Linked DNA regions of Homo sapiens: region 2 is linked to region 1. Evidence: promoter capture Hi-C in 16 types of primary human blood cells and fetal thymus (Javierre and others, 2016). All regions are on one chromosome and are shown on one strand. Each heading gives the region's core, a stretch centred on a gene start or on the middle of the fragment in contact. The rest is flanking DNA. Distances are from core to core; before and after follow the strand shown. Region 1 holds the start of TSPAN14 (tetraspanin 14). Region 2 overlaps ABLIM1 (actin binding LIM protein 1).

The links. The method cuts DNA at HindIII sites, captures the fragments that hold promoters and counts their contacts. A CHiCAGO score of 5 or more calls a contact.
Region 2: a contact is called between a fragment that was not itself captured here and the fragment with the promoter of TSPAN14 in region 1, in 1 of 17 cell types (non-activated CD4 T cells). The highest score is 24.1, in non-activated CD4 T cells.

The regions. Positions count from the first base shown.
Region 1 is chr10:80,451,924-80,458,078 of GRCh38, forward strand. TSPAN14 (tetraspanin 14) reads left to right here and starts at 2,387. Exons shown (of 9, transcript NM_030927.4): 1 at 2,387-2,448. RefSeq lists enhancers at 1,743-1,952, 2,696-3,213, 3,163-3,422, 3,453-3,502 and a silencer at 1,983-3,032. The HindIII fragment of the contact is 5,289 bases long and covers 1,704-6,155 here.
Region 2 is chr10:114,520,437-114,527,136 of GRCh38, forward strand. The region is part of intron 6 of ABLIM1 (actin binding LIM protein 1); the gene reads right to left. Among named protein-coding and RNA genes, the nearest start is that of AFAP1L2, 120 kb to the left of the region's middle. RefSeq lists enhancers at 6,193-6,312, 6,483-6,700. The HindIII fragment of the contact is 2,440 bases long and covers 4,231-6,670 here.

The sequences.
Region 1 (6,155 bases), core at 1,137-3,636:
GAGTTCCTAGTGATGAGATAACCCCGCTGGTTCTCTAACAGGCATCTGAAGCTCCATGTGGCTTGAACAGAATTCCTGATGTAACTCCCTGAGATGTGGTTCATGCTTTTTGATCCAATAAATGAAGCACTATCCACCCACTTACCCCAGCCAGAAACTTGAGTTATCTTTGGTTTCTCCATTTCCTGCCCCCATGTCCTTCCTATCAATGTGTCCTCTTAAGTCCAAAATAGCATCTCTCAACTACTCATCTTAGCATGACCACCACTTTGGTTCAAACCACCATCATCTTTGGCCTGGATTGTGGCAAGCCTAATTGGCTCCCTGCTTTTATTTTTGCCTGACACCCACACACAGCCTTAAATCAGAACATGTTAGTCTTCTGCATAAAACCCTTCCAAGGCTCAACAAAGTCTCCATTCTTTGACACAGCCCACAGGCCCTGCATGCTTTGGCCCCCACCCACCTTCTCACTCCATCCTGGGCCTCTTCCCCTAGGCTTAAAACTTCAGCCACACTGATTTTCTTTCAGTTCCCTGACCCATCCAGAACTTACCCTGAAAAGGCACCTACTGCTCTCAGCGAGGAATGTCTCTGCCCAACTTTTCCCAAGGCTAACTCCTTACTCTTTTGACTTCAATTTCAGCATCGCCTCCTCACTTTCCCTGACTGCTTCATCTAAGGTAGCTTTTATTCTCTATTCTAGCCCCTTGTTTTTGTCCCAGCCTTTACTTCAACTTGTGATTATGTATTTGTCTTCTCCACTAAAAATTAACTTTATTGGGCAAAAGGCCTCAGCTGTCTTGTTCACTGAAGTATCCCACCATGCACACAGGGCCTGGCATATTATCAGGCACTCAGACAAACACTCACTATCTGCTGAATGAATGGACAGGTTCCCAGGGAGTTTCCAGAGCTGCCTGGGCTGTCACAGACAGGTTGCATCCCTCTTAATTAAACAAACAAATAAAATTAGCCAGGCACCGTGGCTCATGCGTGTAATTCCAGCACTCTGGGAGGCAGAGGCGGAAGGATTGCTTAAGCCCAGGAATTTAAGACCATCACTGGCAACACAGCAAGATCTCGTCTCTACAAAAAAAAAAAAAAAAAAATTAGCTAGGTGTGGTGGCCTGCACCTGTGGTCCCAGCTACTTGGGGAAGCTGAGGCGGGAGGTCGAGGCTGCAGTGAGCCATGGTCATGCCACTGCACTCCAGCCTGGGTGACAAAGCGATACCTTAGCTCAAAAAACAACCCAAACAAACCTGGGAATGGACTGAACAGTCTCCATTTCAAGATTTCCTCCTTCCATTGGAATTAACCTGTTGGTTGCTTGTACTGGCATGTGGCAACCAGTCTTAGCCCAGTTTTAATAGATCCCTGTTTGGTGTTACTCAACAGAGAAGACCACTCGGCCCTCAGCCACCGAATAAGTTTAAGAAACAGAGGTGTGGCATGCTTCATTCTACAGGTAGGGAGGCTGAGGCTGGGGAGCCGCCCCTGGCTATCCCTGGAAACCCCTCTACCCCACAGGAATCGTCCCAGCCATCTCTTTAGCGTAAAGGTGAGGAACAAATCTCAGCCACGATCCAAAGAGGGGCGCCACCCCTGGCTGTCCCTGGAAACCCCCCTACACCACAAGAATCGTCCCAGCCACCTCTTTAGCGTAAAGGTTAGGAAGAAATCTCAGCCACGATCCAAAGAAAGCTTGGTATTTTTAGCACCAAGGCCAGAAGGAGCGTGTCCTTACTCCTTGGTTTACAAAGAAATAAAAACCTTTTCCCCATCCTTCTTTTGATTGAAGACTACCCCCGCCCCCAGGCTCCAAAGCCGGGCAGGAACGCCTCTTATCTCCACCACAGCCATTTTCCTAATCCTTCGCCCGCTCTCCACGGTCATCCCGTGTATCCCTCGAGACGCCGCCTCCCACAGCTCGTGCTTCTCCCAGGTTCGGCTCCGACAAGGCCAGAGCGGCGTCTGCGCAGCGCAACGGCTCAGAGCGCTCCCGGCGGCTACAAGTGCCCGGCCCCGGGCCAGGCCCGGCCTGCGCCGCGCACCCACTGGGAGGGCGCGGACCGGGGCCGCCCCAAGCCTCCGGCACCGCCCAGAGCGGGACAAAGGGGCGGGCCGGCGACCCGGCCTCGCGGTCCCCGGTGCCGCGCGGGCCGGGAGGCGGGGTGCGGTGGGGGAGGGGCGAGGCGGCTGGGGGAGGGGCGGGGCCAGGGCGGGCCCAGGCGCCCGGGGCCGCACCGGGCGGCGCAGGGAAGCGGCGCCCCTTCCTCGGCAGACGGCAGGCGCCGCGCCTCCGGCCCCGCCCCTCCGCGCCCCTCCGCGCCCCGCCCCCGCCGCTCGGACGGCCCGAGTCGCGCCCTCCCGCCCCGCGCCGCGGAACTTGCTCTAACTTCCTCGGCCGAGCCGGGCCGCGCCGCCGCTGCCGCCGCCGCGCGCGGGTGAGTAGAGCGCGGAGACCTGGCTGGGGCGTCGGGCCCTGCCCCTTTCTTTGTCTGAGGCCGACTTCCCCGAGCGTTCTCCGGGGGCGAGGGCTGCTCCTTAGGTCCCTGTTTGGCCCCTCAGCCTCCCTCCCCGCCTGCCCAGGAGCGGCCCCGCGGGCGGCGCTGGCTTTGTCTGCCAGGATTGCTCGCTAGAGGTTGGAGGCCTCCGCCGGGACCCCGCTGAGCCGAACTCCGGCGCCGCGCGGACGAGAGCCGCGGCGGGCCCGGGGCCGGCACTCCTGGTTCGGTAGCCCTCGCCCCATCAGCGCGCCCCGGCGAGTGCGCGCCCGTGCCGGGCGGGGTGAGGGCGACGGGAGCCTGGACGGCCGCTGCTGCTCGGGGCTCTGCTTCTCGTCCCCAGCAGCGAGCTCGGGGATGGGCCACCCTTTCGGCTCAGTCACCCACCCTCGGCTCCCAGGAGATCGGGTCCGGGGTGGGGGTGGGCGTAGGCCGGGGCGGGCCGCCCCTTCCTCCTGCCCCGCCGTGGTTGTGCTCAGTCTCCCACGCCGCCGTGGGTCCCACTCTGCCCGGCTTGGGTTTGGGACGGCCGGAGTTTGAGTAGGCGGTGACCCAGCTTCTCCGCGTTAGTCGTGTGGGGTTGTGTTTGGGAGCAAAGCCTGACCCCTGACCTAGCCGGAGTTCTGGTAGAGTGAGGTTTGTGGCTGCGGACTGTGCTTGTCCCGGGCCGCTGCTGCTTCTCCTCCACCCCCAGGGGTGGGGTGCGGGTGGGTAGGAAGTGCCTGTGTGAGGGTGTGTGGAGGGACTTTGGCCCTGGGACCGCAGGAGCACTTGTCTTGGGGACTTAAAGTTGATCTCCGGCGAGAAACAGTCCGTGCTAGGGGGAGTCGGGGGAAGTCGTGGGCCCGGGTACTGGCCTGGGGCTGGGCGCAGAGCGGTGGTGAGTGCGGCGGTGTCACACACTCGTTGGCTGTGCTGGCGCTGCTATCCGGGAGGTCAGGCGGTGCTGGGCGGCTGTGCAGAGCATTGTATTGGAGCCTCTGCAGGTGTGCTCTTGGCAGTGGTCTGCTCTCCAGGGGATCTTCCTCCCTTCCGAGAGGGAGTTGCTCTTGGGCTAGTGAGAGAGTGGCCTGCCAAATCCTCAAAAGTAGCCTTCCCCTTGCCCCTTGACCTTGAAGTCCAGAAGCAGTTAGTGCCTGCTGAGTGCTCCGGCCACCCTTCTCTATTTGTGAAGGGAAACCTGGGGACAGGCCATCGGAGCACCCCTATGTCCTTGCCACATTTCAGCTAGCCGAGTGGTTGGTGGGGGCGGCCGTCTTTCCAGGGATCTTCCTGGGCCCTGGCACCCCCAGAATGAAGCCCAGACTCCACCATAATGGCCCTGTATGCCCTTCTATCCCCTTAGCTGCTGGTGTGATCATAGCCTCAAATTGCTGGGCTCAAGTGATCCTCCCACCTCAGCCTCCCAAAGCACAGGGATTACAGGTGTGAGCCACCACGCGCAGTCTGATCCCACTCCGATCCCTAACGTTATAGTGACAGGCCCTGGAAACCCAGGGCCACCAGATGTATTTTCCCTTTCCTTCTCATTGTGTTGCACCCCAACTTCAGTTGGAGACTCTGGATATATCCATCCCCACATCTCTGAACTCCACTGCTTGGGCCACCTAATGTCATCCTCAGTTTAGTTAACAAAGCATGGTTGAGATTTCTGTGGGGTGCGAGGCATTGTTGCAGGCACTATTCCAAGTCTGGAAAGTCCCTCACCAGCTATGAACTTGGTGTGGTCTTAGAACCCAGGCTGGACATGGCATAGGTGCTCAGTAGTGTTTATTGATCTGAGCTTGATCTCAGCGTAGCAGGATCATTTAGGGAGACGGGGTTGTGGGGGGGGTCTGAGCCCATGGGTGCTTCTGAAGGTTTGTGGCTGCCCCAGGAAGAAAGGGCATGGAGCTGCAGAATGGTTGGCTGCCCAGGGAATTGTCCCCTTCACCAGCTGGGCAGCTGTGCTAGTCTCTGAGGACTGGTGAAGGTCCTTCTCATGTAGGAAGTGGCAGTATGAAGTGGGAGAGGAGATGGCTCTGCCCTGAAGGTTGTGGCGGCAGTGAAGTGAAGTTCCCATGGAGGCCGGGGAGCAGGAAAGCCCTGGGTTCTGGAACTATTTCCTGAGGCCTCACTCTATGCCACCATGTGCTCAGGAATTTGACCCATTTAACTTCAACTGAGGTAGAATTCCTTTTAGCAGTGCCTGCAAAGTGGCATTGTGCCAGGCCTGGGAAACCTTTGCTGGCTTAAAATTTAGTGAAGGACAAGATTATTTCATAGTGATACTAATGTGAGTTTATTGAGACTTACACCCTAGAAGTTTGACTTGTAATAACTCATTTAATCCTTGAAAACAGCTGTGATGGCTGGGCGTGATGGCTCATGCCTGTAATCCCAGCACTTTGGGAGGCCGAGGTGGGTGGATCACCTGAGGTCAGGAGTTCAAGACCAGCCTGACCAACACGGTGAAACCCTGTCTCTACGAAAAATACAAAATTAGCTGGGCGTGGTGGCACATGCCTATAATCCCAGCTACTTGGGAGGCTGAGGCAGGAGAATTGCTTCAATCTGGGAGGTGGAGGTTGCAGTGAGCTGAGATCGCGCCGTTGCACTCCAGCCTGGGCAACAAGAATGAAACTCCATCTCAAAAAACAAAAAACAAAAAGCAAAACAACCGTGATGTCAACAGCTCCATTTTACAGATGAGGAAACTGTGGTCCCGAGAGGTCACAGAGTAACTTGCTTGAAGTCTCAATATGAGCTGGGTTTTCTCATTTCTTTTTTTTTGATACTGAGTCTCACTCTATTGCCCAGGCTGGAGTGCAGTGGCGTGATCTCGGCTCACTGCAACCTCCGCCTCCTGGGTTCAAGTGATTCTTCTCCTGCCTCAGCCTCCCAAGTAGCTTGGACTACAGGTGTGCACCACCACACCCAGCTAATTTTTGTATTTTTAGTAGAGATGGGGTTTCACCATGTTGGCCAGGCTGGTCTTGAACTCCTGACCTCAAGTGATCCGCCCGCCTCGGCCTCCCAAAGTGCTGGGATTACAGGCGTGAGCCACTGTGCCGGACCAGGTTTTCTCATTTCTAATTTAGACAATATGTTCCTCTCAGAGGTGATTAAAATGGATTCATATACCAAACAAGCCTGGCCCACAGTGGAACTAATGAATGTTTTCAGTGAAGGTGCCCTTGTATCCCTGCCTCTGAACACATCTCATCTGTCCAGCACAGCCTGGGCACATAGCAGGTACCCCGGAACCCCCGCTGATTGGTGATGGAGCTTCTGTCTCCCTAAGGCCAGGGAATGGGAAGACCAGCACTACCACATGCAGAAGATTGGGGAGTCACTGCTTGTGTCTGTCTGGACAGATCACGGTTTGCTGTGGTAACAGCAATCCCCAGGTCTCAGAGGCTTAAAGCAACAGAGGTTTATTTCTTGTTCACACTGCATGTTCATCACTTATCTGCTTTATGTTGTCCTCACTGGGGGGACCCATAGTGATTAGTGGGAACACCCCTGGTGGCTTGGACAGAGGGACAGAGAACATGATGATCCCTGTGTCCTGCCACTGAGTCCTGGTGGCCTTTAAGATGCCTATGGGAAGGGGATTAGGTTCCTGCTGCCTGTCTCTGCCCTGCCGTGTCAGTCCTTGGATATCT
Region 2 (6,700 bases), core at 4,201-6,700, about 34 Mb after region 1:
TTGTCATGGTGGTTTCCTTGGTGTAAGTTTCATATTCTAGGGGAAATCAGTGCCATCGTGGGAGCTAAAAAAAGGAGAACTCATTCCCAGGGCTGCCAATTGTAACCCTGGATTAAAGTGCCATGTGACTCAGCAGCTGCTTAACTTTTGACTAATAGATTTGTTTACATAAGAAGAATGAGAGGGTTTAAGCAATCAATGACGTCCTATCGGTTAAAAAAAGAAAAAAAAGAAAGAAAGAAAAATGACGTAGGCTGGGTGTGGTGCTTCATGCCTGTAATCCCAGCACTTCAGGAGGCCAAGGCAGGAGGACCACTTGAGGCCAGGAGTTAAGAGAGCAGCCTGGGCAACATAGTGAGACCCTGTCTCTAAAAAATAATAATAAAAAAAAATTAGCTGGGCATGATGGCATGCACCTGTAGTCCCGGGACTCAGGAGACTGAGGCAGGGAATCTCTGGAGCCCAGGAGTTTGAGGCTGCAGTAAGTTATGACTGTGCCACTGTGCTCCAGTCTGGACAACAGAGTGAGACCCTGTTTCTAAAAAAACAATAAAAATAAGTGACTTAAGATACAGCAGCTAGTTATCCTTAGAGATGTCACTGGATTATGAACTGATAGGCTCATGTTTATGTTTATAAATAGTATAAATAATATGTATAAGCTCAAATAATAGGGATGAGAAGGGAGGAGGTGAGGTCTTAGGTTTCATTCATTTGGCAAAAGCCTGTGATGAACCTGTGGGTCAGGCACTGGACACCTGATGAGGAGGAAAGAAAGGCTGTATAATCTGCGCTACCAAGAAGAAATCTGTATTCAATTCCTGGCCCTGCAGTAATCATCTGTACGCCTTTCGGCAACTGCTCTGGGCCTCAGTTTACTTACTTGCAAAACAAAGATGAGAGTCATACTCAAGCCATAGAGTTGATGAAAGGACTTTGATGAAGTATGCTTATAAAGTGCTAAGGCAATAAGAACAAACAATAATTACAACCATAACCACCTTTATTACACATTCCTGTCCTCAAGAGCTTAGTATGCAGAGCTTAGCAAACAGGTGACTGTAACTGGATAAGATGGTTAGTGTAATGTACAAAGTGAGGTGGGTGTGGGGAGAAAATTCTCCAAGGCTACTGTCTTGGGGAGTCAAAGAGGAATCACAGGAGAGAAGCTCTTAGACTTAAAAGAGAGTAGAAATTTACTCGGTAGTCAACCCCCCTCCTTTCCCCGCTCCTTCTTTCCTTCCTTCCCTCTCCTTTTCCCTCCCATTCATCCATCCTTCTATCCATCCACTCATCCTCTTATTGGGCACCAACCTTCTATCAGATGATGTTTTAGTTTCGGGGATATGATAGTACCTGTCATAAGCATACATTCTTGCAATGAGTGACAGATACTAGACATGGATACAAGCAGATAAGAATTCCAGATAGTCGGGGAACAGTGCCATGAAGAACCTAAAACAGAACCAGGGGAGAGAAGATGGCCTAGGGGTTGGGCAGGTGGAAGCAACTTTAGCTAGGTGATTAGAGGATACCTCTCCAAGTCAAAAGAGGCAGGTTGAATAATGAGAAGGAAGCCAAGATCTGGAGGAAGAATGTGCCAGGCTCAGGGAGCAGTGAAAGCCCAGAGATGGACAGTGTCTGTGCTTGAGGGGCAGAAAGAAGGCTAGCAGGGCTGGAATGAAAGAGGAGGGAAGATGTAGGTAATCAGAAACTTAATCTCAGAGGGCTGCATAAGCCAGGAGAAGATATTTCAACAGATTTTCAAAATTCCAAGGTTTAAAGGCAAAACAAAAACCCAGTCGAACACATGTTTTCCTCATGCTTTAGAACTCTTTTCAAACCACAAAGGAAACCTGGCAATCCACCCCACCCCCCACTTATTCCCTAAACTTCGTTATATAAGGGCCAACATCTTCTTTCATCTGTTGCCAGACCAGATACATTTGGCATCCTAAACAAGTTGCCAAAACAAAGCAGAAAGCTCAGCTTAAACTCTGTTAGAGGATGTTCTAAACTTCACAAAACACAATTCTCTATGTTTTCAAGTATGTTTATTTGGACAAGGTATACGGATATGAGCACAGACATAAGGAACCAGCTGCACAGAACCAAGACAATCTAGTAAAAAATTACTATTCAGCAGTAAGGAAAGATAAAAGCAGTCTTAAGTGTAAACAAGTATTTTTGCTTCATCTAGTGTTTATGAGCAACAAATGGCCTCAGTGTGAACCAGCAATGCTGAGAAGGACACAAACACGTATTTGCTAAAAACATTCCAGGCTTGGCGAATAATAAAGCAGCAGGGTTTGTTTCCTCTTTGATGAAGGTCCCCTCCCGTCAAAGGCTGCACCTTAAGCCTCTGCAGCTTAAGGTACAAGAAAGGCTCACGCTTGCTCATTCCCAGGGCTCTGCTTAGAAGCATGTAGCTAGGCCAGGTGCGGTGGCTCACGCCTGTAATCCCAGCACTTTGGGAGGCTGAAGCGGGTGGATCACTTGAGGTCAGGAGTTGAAGACCAGCCTAGCCAACATGGTGAAACCCCATCTCTACTAAAAACACAAAAAATTAGCCGGGCATGGTGGCACACACCTGTAATCCCAGTTACTCGGAGGGTGAGGCAGGAGAATCGCTTGAACCCAGGAGGTGGAGGTTGCAGTGAGCCAAGATTGCACCACTGCACTCCAGCCTGGGTGACAGAGCAAGACTCCATCTCAAAAAACAAAACAAAACAAAAAAATCCATGGAGCTGGGGTTGGTTTGTGAACCAAAGCAAGAGATTGAGAGGATCTTTGGCTTCTCTGTCTCTCACTACGGCATCTTTACATTCTGCACAGTCTGGAAACTTCCAATTTCAAGACATCTGCCCCATCTGCACCCCCCTTGCCCTGATAACCTGGTTCAGAGAACCAGGTAGGTTCTCTGGGCAGCACCACCTGACTCCCCACAGGACACATAGATCAACAAGGGCCGTTTTTTCACCTCTGATCATAAGCTCTTTCAACTGGCGAGTTTTCTTAAAGAGGTGGTAAATACCTTGCCTTTGGGTCAGACCCTATGGTTAGTGTGCTCTTTATCTTATTGAAACCATGAAGAAGCATTAACCTGTGGGGTTTATAATAAGAGCAGAAATTTAATTTCTGGGCCTTATGAAGGCCCAAATTCTACAACCCACAGACCCACTCTTCCTGCATCCTTCAAAGAGTTTTCTGGTAGCCCCTCAGACATTAAAACCTGCTTAGATGGTGACTGGATTTGTCCTCTTTAAAAAATTACAGAAATATGGACACAGGCTGCAGACATGTGGCTTGCTGACCAAGCTCCTGGGTGGTCTTTCCATAGAAATCATTGACATTCATTTGTCTGTTCATCAATGACTGAGCAAATAGTATGAGCAGGCACTGTGCTATATCCTGGGGGCAAATAGACCTAAAATGCTCACATTTGCTGCACTCAGGGATCTTTGGTCTACTGAATGGGGGGAGAGGGTGAATTTTAATTACGAAGAACTGTTACTTAGAGAGCACATGGTGTGTGTCACATTGGTACCTCCAGGTGGAGAGAAATGCAAGATTTGCTTTGCAATCAAAAGCAGAAACCACAGCTCTCTGATAACATTATGGGCCAGTCCAGGTCTGTCACCAAGAATAGACTTCAATAAGTCAAGGTGTTTCCCTATCTGTTCAGCCAATGCTAAGCACCACTAAGCACTATGCAGTGGTACATCTCATCTGGTTTGGGTGGTGGTGGTAGCTCCTGGAAGTCACGGTGCTCAGTGCAATGTACTATATTCTTGGAGAAACACCAAGAAAAAGCAGCACTCGCAGCTTCATGCATTTTGTAATCTGTAAACCTTTGAGAGCAAACAAGCAGTAGCATTAATGCTAAAGGTGTAAGAAAAATTTTAAACGGAAAAAATCCCAGCCATTGACTTCATCGTTATCTGTAAATTGGAAAAAAGCTGTGATTCTTCAATTGCACTCACAAAACAAGGCCCAATTCCTAAAAAAATCAAAACAGTTTGAGACCCACTGGTACAGATGGCGAAAAGAAAAAAGAAATGAAAGCATTCACTTGCAGATTCTAGAAGAAAAAAAAACTAACAGGCATGGCCAGATTTACTAAAAACCCACATTACAAACAAACAAACAACAACAACAACAAAAAACTCTATATTTACAGAAGGGAAAAGTATGGGTAACTATTTGCTTTATAAAATGGATCACTGTATAAGCTTCTTTTTAAAAAAAGACAAAATAGTATATCCCCAGAATGCACTTTAGAATTCAATTGAAAGAAGTTTGACTACTATACCAATCATAGCACTGTATAAAATAAGTCCCACAAGGGCACAGAAGGAAAAGGGGGCAGAAGAATGTATATCCGCAGCAAGTCCTTGAATCTGATACCCCATTCCCAAGATGTGATTTCAGACAAAACCCAAACAAAATAAAAACCAAATGGTCAGGCAAAAACACCTGTCCTGCCACTGTTCCTTGGACCCCGCCAGGCCTCCCTGGGACTCCAGCCTCCTCTCATAGACCCTTCCCCCTCGTTGGCAGCAGTAGGCCCCAAGACAGGTTTCCCTCTAGCAGTGATTCCCAACCAGGGGCATTTTGCCCACAGGGAATATTTAACAGTGTCTGAAGATATCTCTGGTTCTCACAGCTGGGGAGGGAGTGCTACTGTCGCCTGGTGTGTAGAGATCAAGGATGCTACTAGACATCCCATAGACAGTCCCCTGCAACAAACTATAATCCCATCCAAAATGTCAATAATGCTGAGGTTGAGAAACCCTGTTCTACAGGAGCCAAAATCATGACCATCCCTCCAGAAAGTCAGGTTACAAGAACTGAGTAGTTCACTTTCTGTCCTTTTAGGTGAGCTATTGTTTAGTTGAAGAGAAAAATCTGCAGGCTTCTGTTGTCAGGATATAATATTCCCTGAGCTTACTGGATAAGCCACTGATGCGAGGATTAGACTCACTGACACATGAAAATGCTTAGGCAACCGCCTCGAAAACATTGGTCAAAACATTCTAAGTGTTATAAGGGATGCTTGGCAAGGCCTCACGCTTAGTCTTAAAAAGCCTTCTCAAAAGTAATTTATACCAATGAGCCGTGGCAAATTCACCTATTCTATAAGTACGCAGTGACTCAACAAGCCTTTTGATCCATTTATAGAATGGCAACAATTATATTTTAATGAGTTATTTTCACTTACTTGTCAGAACCTGTTTTGGTAATCTAAATAACTTCACATCCTCTTAACATTCCTTATGAGGCTGTCTGAGAGAAAAACAGGCTCAGTTTTCTTTTAAGTCTCCAATCTCAGCTAAGTGACAAATGAAGCTGCTATAGCGACCACACTCCTGCTGGCTTATGGCCAAACTCACGTTTTCTTTTTTTCTTTTCCAACATCATAAATCTATTTTTTTCACAGATGAAATAACTTTCTGGTCCCATTTCTTCTTTCATGCTAGTATAGCACATTTTAAAACACTTTCCCCCCAAAAAAAGTCTTTACAGTATGATTCGATTAATAACTGGGTTTTTAGGAAAACTATTTTCAATATAAAGGCCAGAATCTCTAGATTTCTTTTACTGCATATCAAAGGTGGAAAGAGAGGCAATTGTCAAGCTCTTTCAACCTAGAGCCGCAATAAAACATGAATAACATCTAAACATTTTGTTTCCTTATTTTCATTTATTGGGTATTTCTTAAAGAAAAAAAAATCTCATAATTTACAGTAATAGCTAAATCTACTCATTCCCACGTGCCACTTCCACCACCAAATCCCCCAAACAGGACTCAAATGTAAATTTCACAGAGCTCTACAAACCACAGACAAAACAAAACAACCCCAAAGTCTGAAAACCACAGTCTCCTTTCAATCTTGCGGGTAGCAGCCTAAAAAAACATAAGCCTTGTTTAAAAGGTCAACGCACTACACTTCTCAGTGAAATAAATAACCAGCCTTTCCTGCCCTTCAGTCTAGTTCTGTATCGATGAACAAAAGCTCCTGTCGTTTCTTTTGTATCATCAGGAAAACAAAAAGTTTACATAAATGTATGTCAGGGCAATAAAAGTGACTTCTGTCGCCAGCATCCAGCCACCACATTTGGAGGATCCGAGCGGCCTCCGACCTCACGAAGGAAGCCAGAAATCTCACATCTGCCACGCAAAGCAAAGGACATAGGTCACCTTGTGCAATGTCCGCTTTACCTCAGGCCAGGGTTCCTTTTCTTCTAATTCTGTTCCTTGGCTGTGCTGAGCAGAGAACTCCTCCAGGCTTCAAGTTCAGAACACGGCCAAGAGGCTTTGTAGATGCCAGACCTCAGCCCGACAGACTGAGGCTCCCACCTGCCTGGGTTACATATCAGGCTTCTCTCCGAAGCTCGGCTAAGGCAACGTGCATCCCTCTAGAGACGCACTCCGGAAACCAGCCCCGTGTGCGGCGGGCAGGCACGCTCTCTCACGCCTCCTCTCCTCGCTTTACTTACTAGTTCAACACACCAGCAACCACAATGGGCCAGTCCATGTTCCCAAAAAAGGAGGGGGAGTAGATTTACTTTCTTTCTTTTTTTAAATGCAGGTAGGAAAGTACCATTTCTTTGCATTCACTCACTATTGTCTGCATGTGAAACCGACAGTGATTGTCCCTGAGGCATAAGCTTGTACTGAAACGAGATTCTTAGGCTT